Regions from separate parts of the Homo sapiens genome. Here regions 1 and 2 are each linked to region 3. Evidence: promoter capture Hi-C in 16 types of primary human blood cells and fetal thymus (Javierre and others, 2016). All regions are on one chromosome and are shown on one strand. The core of a region is centred on a gene start or on the middle of the fragment in contact, and the rest is flanking DNA. Distances in the headings are between cores, read along the strand shown.

What was found. Contacts are between HindIII fragments. The CHiCAGO score rates a contact against its expected background, and 5 or more counts as called.
Region 1: a contact is called between a fragment that was not itself captured here and the fragment with the promoter of BMP3 in region 3, in 1 of 17 cell types (M2 macrophages). The highest score is 7.4, in M2 macrophages.
Region 2: a fragment that was not itself captured here is called in contact with the fragment with the promoter of BMP3 in region 3 in 3 of 17 cell types (M2 macrophages, M1 macrophages and total CD4 T cells); the score reaches 7.4 in M2 macrophages.

What each region holds. Positions count from the first base shown.
Region 1 is chr4:78,966,493-78,970,439 of GRCh38, reverse strand. No RefSeq gene overlaps it. Among named protein-coding and RNA genes, the nearest start is that of LINC01088, 3.3 kb to the left of the region's middle. The HindIII fragment of the contact is 2,286 bases long and covers 875-3,160 here.
Region 2 is chr4:78,948,469-78,952,277 of GRCh38, reverse strand. No RefSeq gene overlaps it. Among named protein-coding and RNA genes, the nearest start is that of PAQR3, 11 kb to the right of the region's middle. The HindIII fragment of the contact is 2,055 bases long and covers 585-2,639 here.
Region 3 is chr4:81,028,706-81,032,464 of GRCh38, reverse strand. It overlaps BMP3 (bone morphogenetic protein 3), which reads right to left and starts at 1,757. Exons shown (of 3, transcript NM_001201.5): 1 at 865-1,757. The coding sequence starts at 1,180. The HindIII fragment of the contact is 6,285 bases long and covers 1-3,759 here.

The DNA.
Region 1 (3,947 bases), core at 768-3,267, 2.1 Mb after region 3:
AAGAGCTGAAAGTGAAACATGTTAGTCTGGAATTCTGTATAGGATTCTAAATAGATTCTACATAAAATTGTAGCATAGTCCTATATCCTACAAAAATGAAAAATAAAGACATTTTCATACCCTTCTCCCCAAATCAGATTTTTTTTCCAGGAGACCTACACAAGAAATGCTAAAAGAAATTCTTCAGGGCCGGGCGCGGTGGCTCACGCCTGTAATCCCAGCACTTTGGGAGGCTGAGGCAGGCGGATCACAAGGTCAGGATTTCGAGACCATCCTGGCTAACATGGTGAAACCCCATCTCTACTAAAAATACAAAAAATTAGCCAGGCCTGGTGGCAGGCGCCTGTAGTCCCAGCTACTCGGGAGGCTGAGGCAGGAGAATGGCATGAACCCAGGAGGTGGAGTGTGCAGTGAGCCTAGATAATGCCACTGCACTCCAGCCTGGGTGACAGAACGAGACTCCGTCTCAAAAAAAAAAAAAAAAGAAAAAAGAAATTATTCAACATGTACATAATAGGCACATAAAATAGGCACAACAAACCATTTGGCAAAATCCAACATCCATTCCTCATAAAACGACTCAGTGAAAAAGAAACTGAAGAGAATTTTCTCAACCAAAAAAAAGCACCTATGAAAATGTATTATACTGAAAGATAAAAGACCAGAACAAGACAAGAATTTTTACTCTCAACACTTCTATTCAACTTTGTCCTGGAAGTTTCAGCTAGTACAATAAAAAAAGAAAAGAAAAATAAATAAGCACAGAAATCAGAAAAGAAGAAATAAAACTGTCTTTATTCACAGACAATATGATCATTTGTATAGAAATGTGATGGAATCGAGAATCAAAGCTACTTGTACTAATAAGTAAGCTTAGCAAGATTTCGGGATACAAGATTGGCATATAAAATCAACTGAATTTCTATATACTAGCAACAAGTTATTGGAAATTGAATGTTTTAAATGTCGCTAATGATAACATAAAAATATATAAAATAGGGATAATGTACATAAAAGATGTGGAAAACCTATAAACAGAAATCTTAAAACATTGTTGAGAAAAAATAAAGAAAAAACAAAATAAATAGATATATTAATTAGCCAGTAATATATAAAATATTACTCAATATTTTAAAGATGTCATTTCTTCCCAAATTATTCTACAGATTCCAGCAAATTCCAATCAAAATCCCAGGAGGACTTTTGTAGAAATTGACAAAACACATATGAAAATGCAAAGAACCTAAAATAGTCAACAGCAACTATTTTTTAGCTCAGTGGCAAGAAACAATAGCAACTTTAAAAAAGAACAAACAAGTTGGGGGGTTAACGCTATTTGATTCAAGACTTCTTGTAAGTAATCAAATAAATGTAGTACTTGTAACATACACCAGTAGATCAATGAAGAAACAGACCTGGCCAGGCAAGGTGTCTCATGCCTGTAATCCCAGCACTTTGGGAGGCCGAGGTGGGAGGATCATCTGAGGTCAGGAGTTCAAGACCAGCCTGGCCAATGGTGAAACCCCATCTTTACTAAAAATACAAAAAAAGAAAAATTAGCCAGGCATGGTGACACATGCCTGTAATCTCAGCTACTCAGGAAGCTGAGGGAGGAGAATCACTTGAACCCCGGAGGCGGAGGCTGCAGTGAGCCAAGATTGTGCCACTGCACTCCAGCCTGGGTGACAGGGAGAGACTCTGTCTCAAAAAAAAAAAAAAAAAAAGAAAAGAAAGAAAGGAAAGAAAGAAAGAAAGACACCCCCACACATACATGAGCAAATGTTTTCCACAAGGATGCAAAGAAAATCTAATAGAGAAAGAAAGGATAGTCTTTTCAAAAACAATGCTGGAGCAACTGGATATCCACATGCAAAAAAGAAACTTGAATCTGCCCCTTAATATATCTATTTATTTTGCCACATGCAAAAATTAACTTAAAATGAATCATTGACTTAACTGAAAATAAAATGACAAAACTTCTTTTTAAAATAGGAGAATAACTTTTGTGACCTTATGATAGGCAGATTTTTCAGATATAACAAAAATAATCTACGAAAGAACAAACTGACAAATTGGACCTTATCAAAATTAAATGTACTGTTCTTCAAAAGATACTGCTAATAGAATAAGAAAATAAGCCACAGGATGGAAGAATATATTTCCAAATGATTTCTATAATTTTTTAAAAAACTAGTATCCAGAATACATAATGATTCAAAATAAATTGAATCACTGTATTCAAAAGAAATAACCCAATGTTTTAAAGGACAAAAGATTTGAACAGACACTTCAGCAAAAAAGATAATGAGTGGCAAATAAACACATGAAAAGAGTCTCAACATCATTAGTCATTATGGAAATGGAAATTGGAACCACAATGAGATGCCCCTTCATACCTGGGTAAATGGATAAAATTTTAAATATCAATAAACAAACAAATAAGTAGAAATTGACCATACCAAGCATTGGTAAAGATATAGGAGAACTGGAACTCTCATACACTTGATGGCAGAATTATAAAATAGTATAACCCATGGTCATTGGAGGAAACAGCATAGATGTTAATCAACAAATTAAAAATAAAACAACCATATGATCCAGCAATCCTACTTCTGGGTATTTATCCAAAGGAAATGAAATCAGTAAGTCAGTGAGATATCTGTACTTCTATGTTCATTGCAGATTATTCACAATTTCAAGACATGGAATCCACCTAAGTGTCTATTAATGGGAATAAATAAAATGTAGTATATATACACAATGGAATAGTATTCAGCCATTCAGCCATAAAAAATGAAATCTAATCATTTGTGACAACATAGATAAATCTGGAGGATATTATGCTGAGTGTAATAAGCCATGCACAGAAAGACAAATACTGTATGATCTTACTTTTATGTGGAATCTAAAAGAGTTGAACTCATAGAAGCAGAGAATTGAAAGATGGTTACCAGGGGCTTGTGAATGTGGGGACAATGTGGAGATGTTGGTCAAAGAGTAAAAAGTTTCAGTTAGACAGGAGAAATAAATTTTGGAGAATGATTACACAACATGGAGACTACAGTTAATAATAATCTAAACTTGAAATTGCGGAAAGAGATTTTAACTGTTCTTACCACAAAAAAATAAGCATGTGAGGTGATAGATATGTTAACAAGCTTGATGTAATAATTCCACAATCTATACATATATCAAAACATCACATTGTATACCATAAATGTATGCAATTTTTATTTGTCATTTAAGATATAGATTTGTAAATTAAATTAAATCATAAAATACTACAACTACTTTGAAAAACAGTAGACTTTTTTTTAAGGTTACCACAAAATCCAGCCATTTTACTATTGGGTATTTACCCAAGAGAAATAAAAGAATATGTCCACATAAGACCTGTACACAAATGTACATAGCAGCTTTATTTTTAATGGCCCAAACTAGAAAGAACCCAAATGTGCATAAACAGATGAATGGATAAAGAAACTATGGCACACCCATACAATGGAATATTACTCAGCAACAAAAATGAGTAAGTTATTGGTATGTGCTACATTATAGCTGAGCCTCAAAATAATTAGGCTGAATAACAAAATGAGTATAATCTATATGATTCCATGTGTATTACATTCTAGAAAATACAAACTAATATACAGTGATCAAAAGCAGATTAATGATTGCATAGGAATTGAGGAAGGTAGGGAAAGGCTAAAGGAAGGGATGACAAAGAGGCCATGGAAAATATGAAAGGACAATGGACATATTCATTATCTTGACTGTGATAGTTTTGTAGATGTATGTATATCTCAGAACATCACACTGTACCCTTTATGTGCATTTTATGGTAGGTCAATGTTATGAACTTAATTGTATCCTCCAAAATTCATATGTTGAAGTCTTACCCACCGTTACATCAGATTGTTACTATATTTCGAGATAAGACCTTTCAA
Region 2 (3,809 bases), core at 363-2,862, 2.1 Mb after region 3:
TGAAAAATTTTGTGAACTTAAGTTTCGTATTTTAAAAACTCTTTAAATTTCTAATGGGCTGGATTATTCATATTTAGGAATTTCAAATCATATATAGATAATTTTTTTTTTAATCATAGTGTACCAACCTTAAAATCACTCATTTCTCATCCCTATCTCAGTGTAAGGCTCAAGTCCAGAGCGCAAGAGGTGACAATTCTGCAGGAGAAGAGTGCCATCTGCAGGAGGACTGTATAATAACTGACAAAATCCTCAGAGTTAATAAAAATGAGACAATTCATTAGTGGAGATTCCACACTCAGCAAGTTGTCTGGCATACAGTAAACTCAATAAATTATTATTGTTATTTGCATGGTAGTAATTATGGCAATATATAATTTTGCATTGCATCTCTTGAAATTGAAAAACAAAAACAAATCAAAAGCCCAAGGAAGAAAGAACCAGAGGCTATTCAGATTATTCAGATCATTCTCCTGGTTTTCATAGGAACCCCTCCAGATATGTAAGAATCTATACCATTTTTAAAGATCTTACAGAAGGAAATTCCACAGCCTCTTATATTCATACCCATGGCTCTACAAGCTTCAGCAGGGCCAGGGCCAGGAAAACTTTGTTACATAAATTTACTTTGGAATGCTCTCCTTCCGCCCCTTTCAGAATCGATACCAGCCCTCATTTTAGAACATACGTTCTTTCATCTGTTCAATAAATATTTTTTTGTGCACCTGCTATGTCCCAGGTGCTGTGATATTTAACCTGCATACAATGGTGAACCCACCATATTTCCTGTCTTTCAAAAGTTTACAGCCAGTTGATCCTCTAAGACTCCAGGATGCTCCTGCTTCCTTTTCCCTGTCTCCCACCTCCTTTTTCAGCTCCTCCTTCCTTCTTCCTTATAAATACTTCATGCTAGGAACTTCCCACAATCCCCCTTACTCTCAACAAAACTAAACTGCCTGTGCTTTATTTTCTCAGGGTTCTAACCTAGGTAGTGACTAGCTAATCTGGTAAATGATTTCACGACAAATGCTAATTGATCTCATCACCAAAGTAATTTGAACACTTTTTCATGAGGTATTTCTGAAGACACAACAATCATTTAGGTCTCTGTGTTGGACTAATGGAGATGATCTTCTGAGTTAGGCAGGGCCTTGTGGTGTATGTGGTACCTGGTACTCCAAAGAGCAGAGCCAACCTTGATTTTTTTGGTTTTACGCCATTATTTCAACCTATTTCTCAATTTGCCACAATAGAGTTAAAGAATTCTATTGAAGATGTACCCAATCATCTTTTACTATAGAGTAGCTCCTTTAAATTCTTGATAAATGTCTCTTCTCATTCTTTTCTCTGATACAAACAGGCTCCCAATAATAATTCAAAACACCACTGAAAAATGAAACATTATGTTAACTTGCATTTTTCATCTTTTATGCATATTTTCCTAAATTTTACACTGCAAATAGATGATGAAGCCACCACTGAACTTCCTCAATTTTATAAGTTCAAATCAGATATGAGATTATTGCAAGCTACTACTCCTGTCTGTTATAAGAGGTGATTTCTACTATTAGTGGTTCCTGATGCATTTTCTTAACCATTCTGCAAGATGGTGTTTGTTTAATTCTGGGCTCTGCAAATGGTGGTCCTGTTTCTGACAGCATTTATTAAAAATAAAAATACATCAGCCCAAATTAAGAAAAAATCCCTTCATTTTCTTGAACTGGAGTGTATATATTCATACCGAAGAAAATATAAGAAAACAAGTAATAAGAAGATAGGGTTTGTATCCCAAAATGTAAACTTTTTCAATGAGGCATAGTTTTTTTTCTTTATTTTAATATCTATCTCTAATTTTAAGAAGGCCCTGTGGAAACTGCATCAACTGCCTTTGAATATTTCCTTGGATATGATTGGGTTGTTAAATTTACACGTTCAAATCTCCTGGATAAGAATGATCTGTAACAACCCACTACAAATTTGGGCAACATTTATAAATAAACATTGGAATTTATTCCTCGGAAAATTTAAAATGCCATAGGTGAAGGGAATTGAATATTATTGATGCTTTTTCAGTGCCAGGTACTTTGTATATGTTATTTCGTGTGACTTTAAGCCCTGTCAAGTTATTTAGGTTGTTTAGACTTATCCTCATCTAATAGATGAGAAAATCAAGACCAAGAGAAATTCTATAACTTGCCAGTAAGTTATATTGTTCAGATTCAGCCTCACGTCCATCTGGGTCTAGCACATGTTCCTTCTATGATACATGAAGACCCTTATTGTAAGTGCTGGCTGTGAGTTTCAAATGAAAAGATGGGCTTGGCATTGGGATGAGATGATGTAACCCAAGGCAAGAACTCTGATGGAGCACCCTGAAATGGAACACTGTAATGGACCACCATAAAAACAGGAAAACATCTTTAAAGAGCATGTGGTTACTTATTTAATATACATTACTGATTATCAAGTTATGTTTATCATTTGTGGGGGTTTTAGATCTAATTTTCAAAGTGTAGCCATTTGGAGATTAAATATTATAGTGTAATGTCTGTACATCATTTCTGGTGAATCAGACTTCACTATTACTATAAATACATTTTAGGCTAAAAAACCCTGACTCCTAGAGTAATGAATAAGCTTATCCCTCACATTTAAGCTTTATTGATTTCTGCTTTGTATTATGTTTCAGAATATTTAGAATGTCATTTTTGTAGTTAATAGGATTGTCTGTGCAGATGGTAAAAATACATTTATTCAAGCCCAATCTTCATTCTAAAGATTTTGGTATAACATTATTTGTTCACTTCTTTATTTATAGAAAATTTATTGTAAAACTGTTGGGTATTTATCGTAAACCCTAGCATGAAACTACCATCTGACCGTGACCCAGCAATTGCACTTTGGGGAATTTATCCCAGAGATAAGAAAAATTCGATTTTCACAAAAACCTGTATAATAACCCAAATCTGGAAACAACCCAGATGTCCTTCAACAGGTAAATGATTGAACAAACTGCGATATATCCAATCCCAAAAGGTTACATACTGTGTGATTTCATTTATATAACATTATCAAAACAACAAAATCATAGAAATGAACAAATTAGTGGTATCAGGGGTTAAGGAATGGGTGGGCAGGAGAAAGTATGTGTGGCTGAATCCACAACATAAGGGATCTTTGTGGTAATGGATCTTTGTGGCGAATGATACTGCACCTTGACTGTTATCAGTGTCAATATCATGGTTGTAATATTGTGCTATAGCTTTTCAAGATGTTATTATTGGAGGAAACTGAGTAAAGGGTACAAGGGATCTCTGTCATTTCTTAAAATTGTATATGAGTCTACAATGACCTCAAAATAAAAAGTTTAATTAAAAAAAAGAGGTCAAGCATGGTGGCTCATACCTGTAATCCCAGCATTTTGCCAAGGCAGGAGGATCACTTGAGACCAGGAGTTCAAGACCAGCCTGGGCAACATAGGGAAACCGTGTCTCTACAAAAAAAATAAAAAATAAAAAGTAGGTTATTTTTTGAGGGGAACTCTGAAATAAAAATAAGACAAAAATACAAAAAAAAGTTAGCCAGGCATGCTGGCACATACCTGTGACCAAAGTTACTCAGGAAGTGGAGGCAGGAGGATCGCTTGAGGCCAGGAGGTTGAGGCTGTAGTGAGCCATGTTTGCACCACTGCATTCCAGCCTGGGCAACAGAGACACTACCTCAAAAAAGTAAAATAAAATAGATAGATAGATAGATAGATAGATAGATAGATAGATAGATGAGAGATATCACACCTAAAGCACTGGTAC
Region 3 (3,759 bases), core at 508-3,007:
GAGGCTGTTAGCATAAGTTATTCCCTTCACCACAGGGGCTAGGAGAAACCTTGTTAAGCCATGAATTTCAGTCCGAAGTGATCTGTGCTGAAAAATGGGATGAGCAGATTTTCTTGGGCAGATTCCAAGAGGTGTTTACATCCAGGGTTGCTCCCTCCCCTTGTCTCCCAGCTCCTCCCAGGATGGATGGTACAACCCCTGTTTACCCAGATGCGTTTTAATAATCGAAACACCCAAGCACCTGTTTTTTTTTTTTTTTTTTTTTTTTTTGCCACTAAGGAACTATCAAGTAAAGTGTCAAATATAGTACAGTAACACAAAGGGCGCGAATTAGGAGCGGGTGCAATATCTGGAGAAGCGACTGGGGAAGGAGAAAAGGAGAGGGGAAGGCGTCTTATTCAAGTATGATTTCTCTCGGGTCCTGGCATTGGCATAAAATGGCATCTGCCTCTTAGTAAACATGGCTAAAGCCCAGTCCAAAGGAATTTCCGCTGGCCGATTTAGGAATCAACAGAATAAGGTACCCTAGAGGTGCTCCAGTCACTCAGGGCAGGAGGCCTCACAGGCATGGGGTGTCGCCCCTTCCCTTTTTCCACGAAGCTCCTCCAGCCTACCCCTCCACTGCTCCGCGCCTTCATTCTATTTCCCCCTCTCACTTTGGATTTGAAAACTGGGCTTACAGGAGATGCAGCTGGCGACACGCGGGGTGTGACTGGACGGAGGAATCCAGAGGGCAGCTGAGGAGGGCGGAGAAAGGTCCCTAGGCAGCGCCACCAAGCAAGGGGCAGACAAGGAAGCTGTGGGGGGTCCCGGGAGAAAGCTGGGGCGGGACCGCGGGAAGGGAGTCTCACCTCGCGCACTCACCTGCTGCTGCCGCCCGAAAGCTGCGAACCGTGTTGCCTTCGCGCAGGAGCCGAGGGCGCCAGGGCTGCGAGCCTCCCTCCAGGGAGCCCGGTGTCCGGGCCGCCTGGACCGTGCTGTACCTGTCATAGAGCCGCAGCATGTGTTCAGAGACCTTGTCTTGCGGCTGCAGCTCGGAGTCCGGGCCACCACCTGCCGTGCGGTCACCTGGCACAGCTTTGCGGAGCTCCGGGAAAGGTGGCTTCGGTCTCTCTCCCTGCGCCAGGCTCACGCAGAAGCAGCCCAGCCACAGAAAGAGCAGCCTGCTCGCCCCAGCCATGGCTAGGTACCCGCGCGGCGCGTCGGCTCCCGGCGTCGCTGCGGGACACTCCGAAGGCGCAAGGAGCCGGCGGCGGAGCCGAGGGTTGAACTCCAAACCAGCTGGGGCGAGGGCGCACGGAGCCCGGGACGCGGCCGGGTGCAGCGAGATAGCGGCCAGCCCCACTTGCTGCGCTGACCCAGCGCAGCCTGACAGGTGGGCTCTTCCCCAGCAGCTGCGCGGACCTCACCCGCGCAGGGCGCTGCGGGCGCCGTCTCCACTCCAACGCTGAGAAAGAGCTGTAGGTCGCGGCGTGTGTGGCCCGGGTGTTTTCAAGATCTGTCTGTACCTTCCCTCCTCGCTTTATTTTTGGGAACACCCGGCCAAACTGGCCGCGCGAGGGACTAGGACTAGCTCTGTTTTGGGCGCCAGGTCGGAGCCGGGGCTGTGCGCAGCGGTCCGGAGGGCGCTCGATTGCCTTTTCCAGGGATTGGAGCAGCTGCGGCGCGGCTGGTCCGAGTTTTTTAGTGTACGTGTGTGTGTGTGTGCGCGCGCGCGCGCGCGTGTGTGCGTGTGTGTGTGTGTATGAGAGAGAGAGACTTAGTTCTTTCGCTCTCTAGCTGATCTGTAGAGTCCTCAGCCAATCTCTCCCACTCCCTCGTCCTCGCCCTCTTAGCTTGCACCAGGCTGGGATAGAAGCAAGGGAGGGGGGGAGTAACCAGAGAACTGGCAGCGGGAGGGAGAGAAGAGGAAGTAGGGGTGGGGATGGCTGGGGAGAGGAAGGGAAAAGGAGATTCAGGACTAAAGAAATGGTAGGAGGGACGGTTTTTTTGTTTTGTTTTGTTTTGTTTTTGTTTGTTTTTTTTTTTAATTCTCCAAGAACAGTGGCTGTGTGGTGGCTAGCAAGAGGGCAGAGGAAAACAGAACTTCTTCCTGGCTTTTCGGTCTTATGATTCCAAACAAAGTCACAACGTGAACACCATTCTCGCTTACTTTCCCGAGCCTCTTCTGACGGACACTGCGGGCCCCTGCACCTGCAGCCCGTCATCATAGCTTCCTGTCTTTCTGAGAGCATACCCATCATAACGCCCCTCTCTCCCGCATCATCTTCTCTCGAGGTGAGAAATATGTGCGAGTCAATATCATGTTAAAAACAAATAAGAAAACAAGCAAACACACCACAACCCCACCTACAGCTTCCCCCAAAGGTTTCCTTCCTACAGGTCCCCAAAAGGTTTCCCAGCAGGATGGTGCAGTGGTGGCTAAAAACAAGGGTGTGTGGAAGATCCCGGAGTCCGGAACAGAATGTAAGAGTCGCTAGCTTTGTCTTCCTAATTCTCTCTTGTCATGGCTGTACAATGGAGATTAAACTATGAGCAGCCTGGCGCAGTGGCTCAGGCCTGTAATCCCAGCACTTTGGAAGGCCAAAGCGGGTGGATCACGAAGTCAGGAGTTCGAGACCAGCCTTGCCAACATGGTGAAACCTCATCTCTACTAAAAATACAAAAATTAGCTGGGCGTGGTGGTGCGCACATGTAATCCCAGCTACTGGGAAGGCTGCGGCAAGAGAATGGCTTGAATCCAGGAGATGGAGGTTGCAGTGAGCCGAGATTGTGCCACTGCACTCCAGACTGGGTGACAGAGCAAACTTTGTCTCAAAACAAAAAACAAACAAACAAACAAAAAACAACTGTGAGCTAACATTTTTCTCCACACTTATGCTCTAGACATGCCTTGTTATTTATATTTCAAGTATATTACCAAATAATTTTCACAGCAAAACCCATTTTACAGATGAGGAAACTGAGGCAAAAGGATACATAGTAAGTGACAGAACTGAGATCCAAATTCAGGGAGTCTGATTTCTGGCCTCAGGCCAGATAACCACACTATTAATAGTGAAATTAGCATTTAAACTGAAGTTTCAGTGTGCAATCCATGTAAATGTTTAGTGCAGTTCTTGACCATATGCAGTAAAATCTTCAGTCAATGTCTATTGCATTTATCCCTCTTCCCCTCTGTAGGGCAATGGAGTTGATCGAAAAGAAGATAGGCTCCTGGAGTCACACCATGTCTCCAGATCTGAGTTTCTTCTTTGATGGTGAATAACAACACATTCCTTTTAGAGTTTTGTTTGGATGACATTAGAAAGCAGTGCTAAAGTGACTGGCGCACTCACTAGCCTTTAATAGGGGCTCAATCCCTTTCTATCCTAAATTTATCCCAAATCCAGACTACATTCTCCCCACTCAGTCACTTCTTAACCCACTGCGGTTTGGATTTTGCCCTTAGCCACCCCGGGAACTGTTCTGCAGATAATAACACATATTTCAAGAGTAGTTGTGAGGATTAAATGAGATCATGTGTTTGATCTTTGCTTGGCATAAAGAACATAATAGCTTTTGTGATTAATAATGAAGATCTAATTGCAAAATTCAATAGGCCCTGGAAACTCTCTCTTTGATTTTTTCCCTGTGAACTATTGGTTGTTTTTCCATTCCTTTCTGCCCTTTCTCAGTTCTGTCAGCTGCCTCCTCTTTCTAGGCCTGCCTCAAGCGTTCCTGACATCTTTACTCTGCCCTTGGAAAATGCCAAATCCA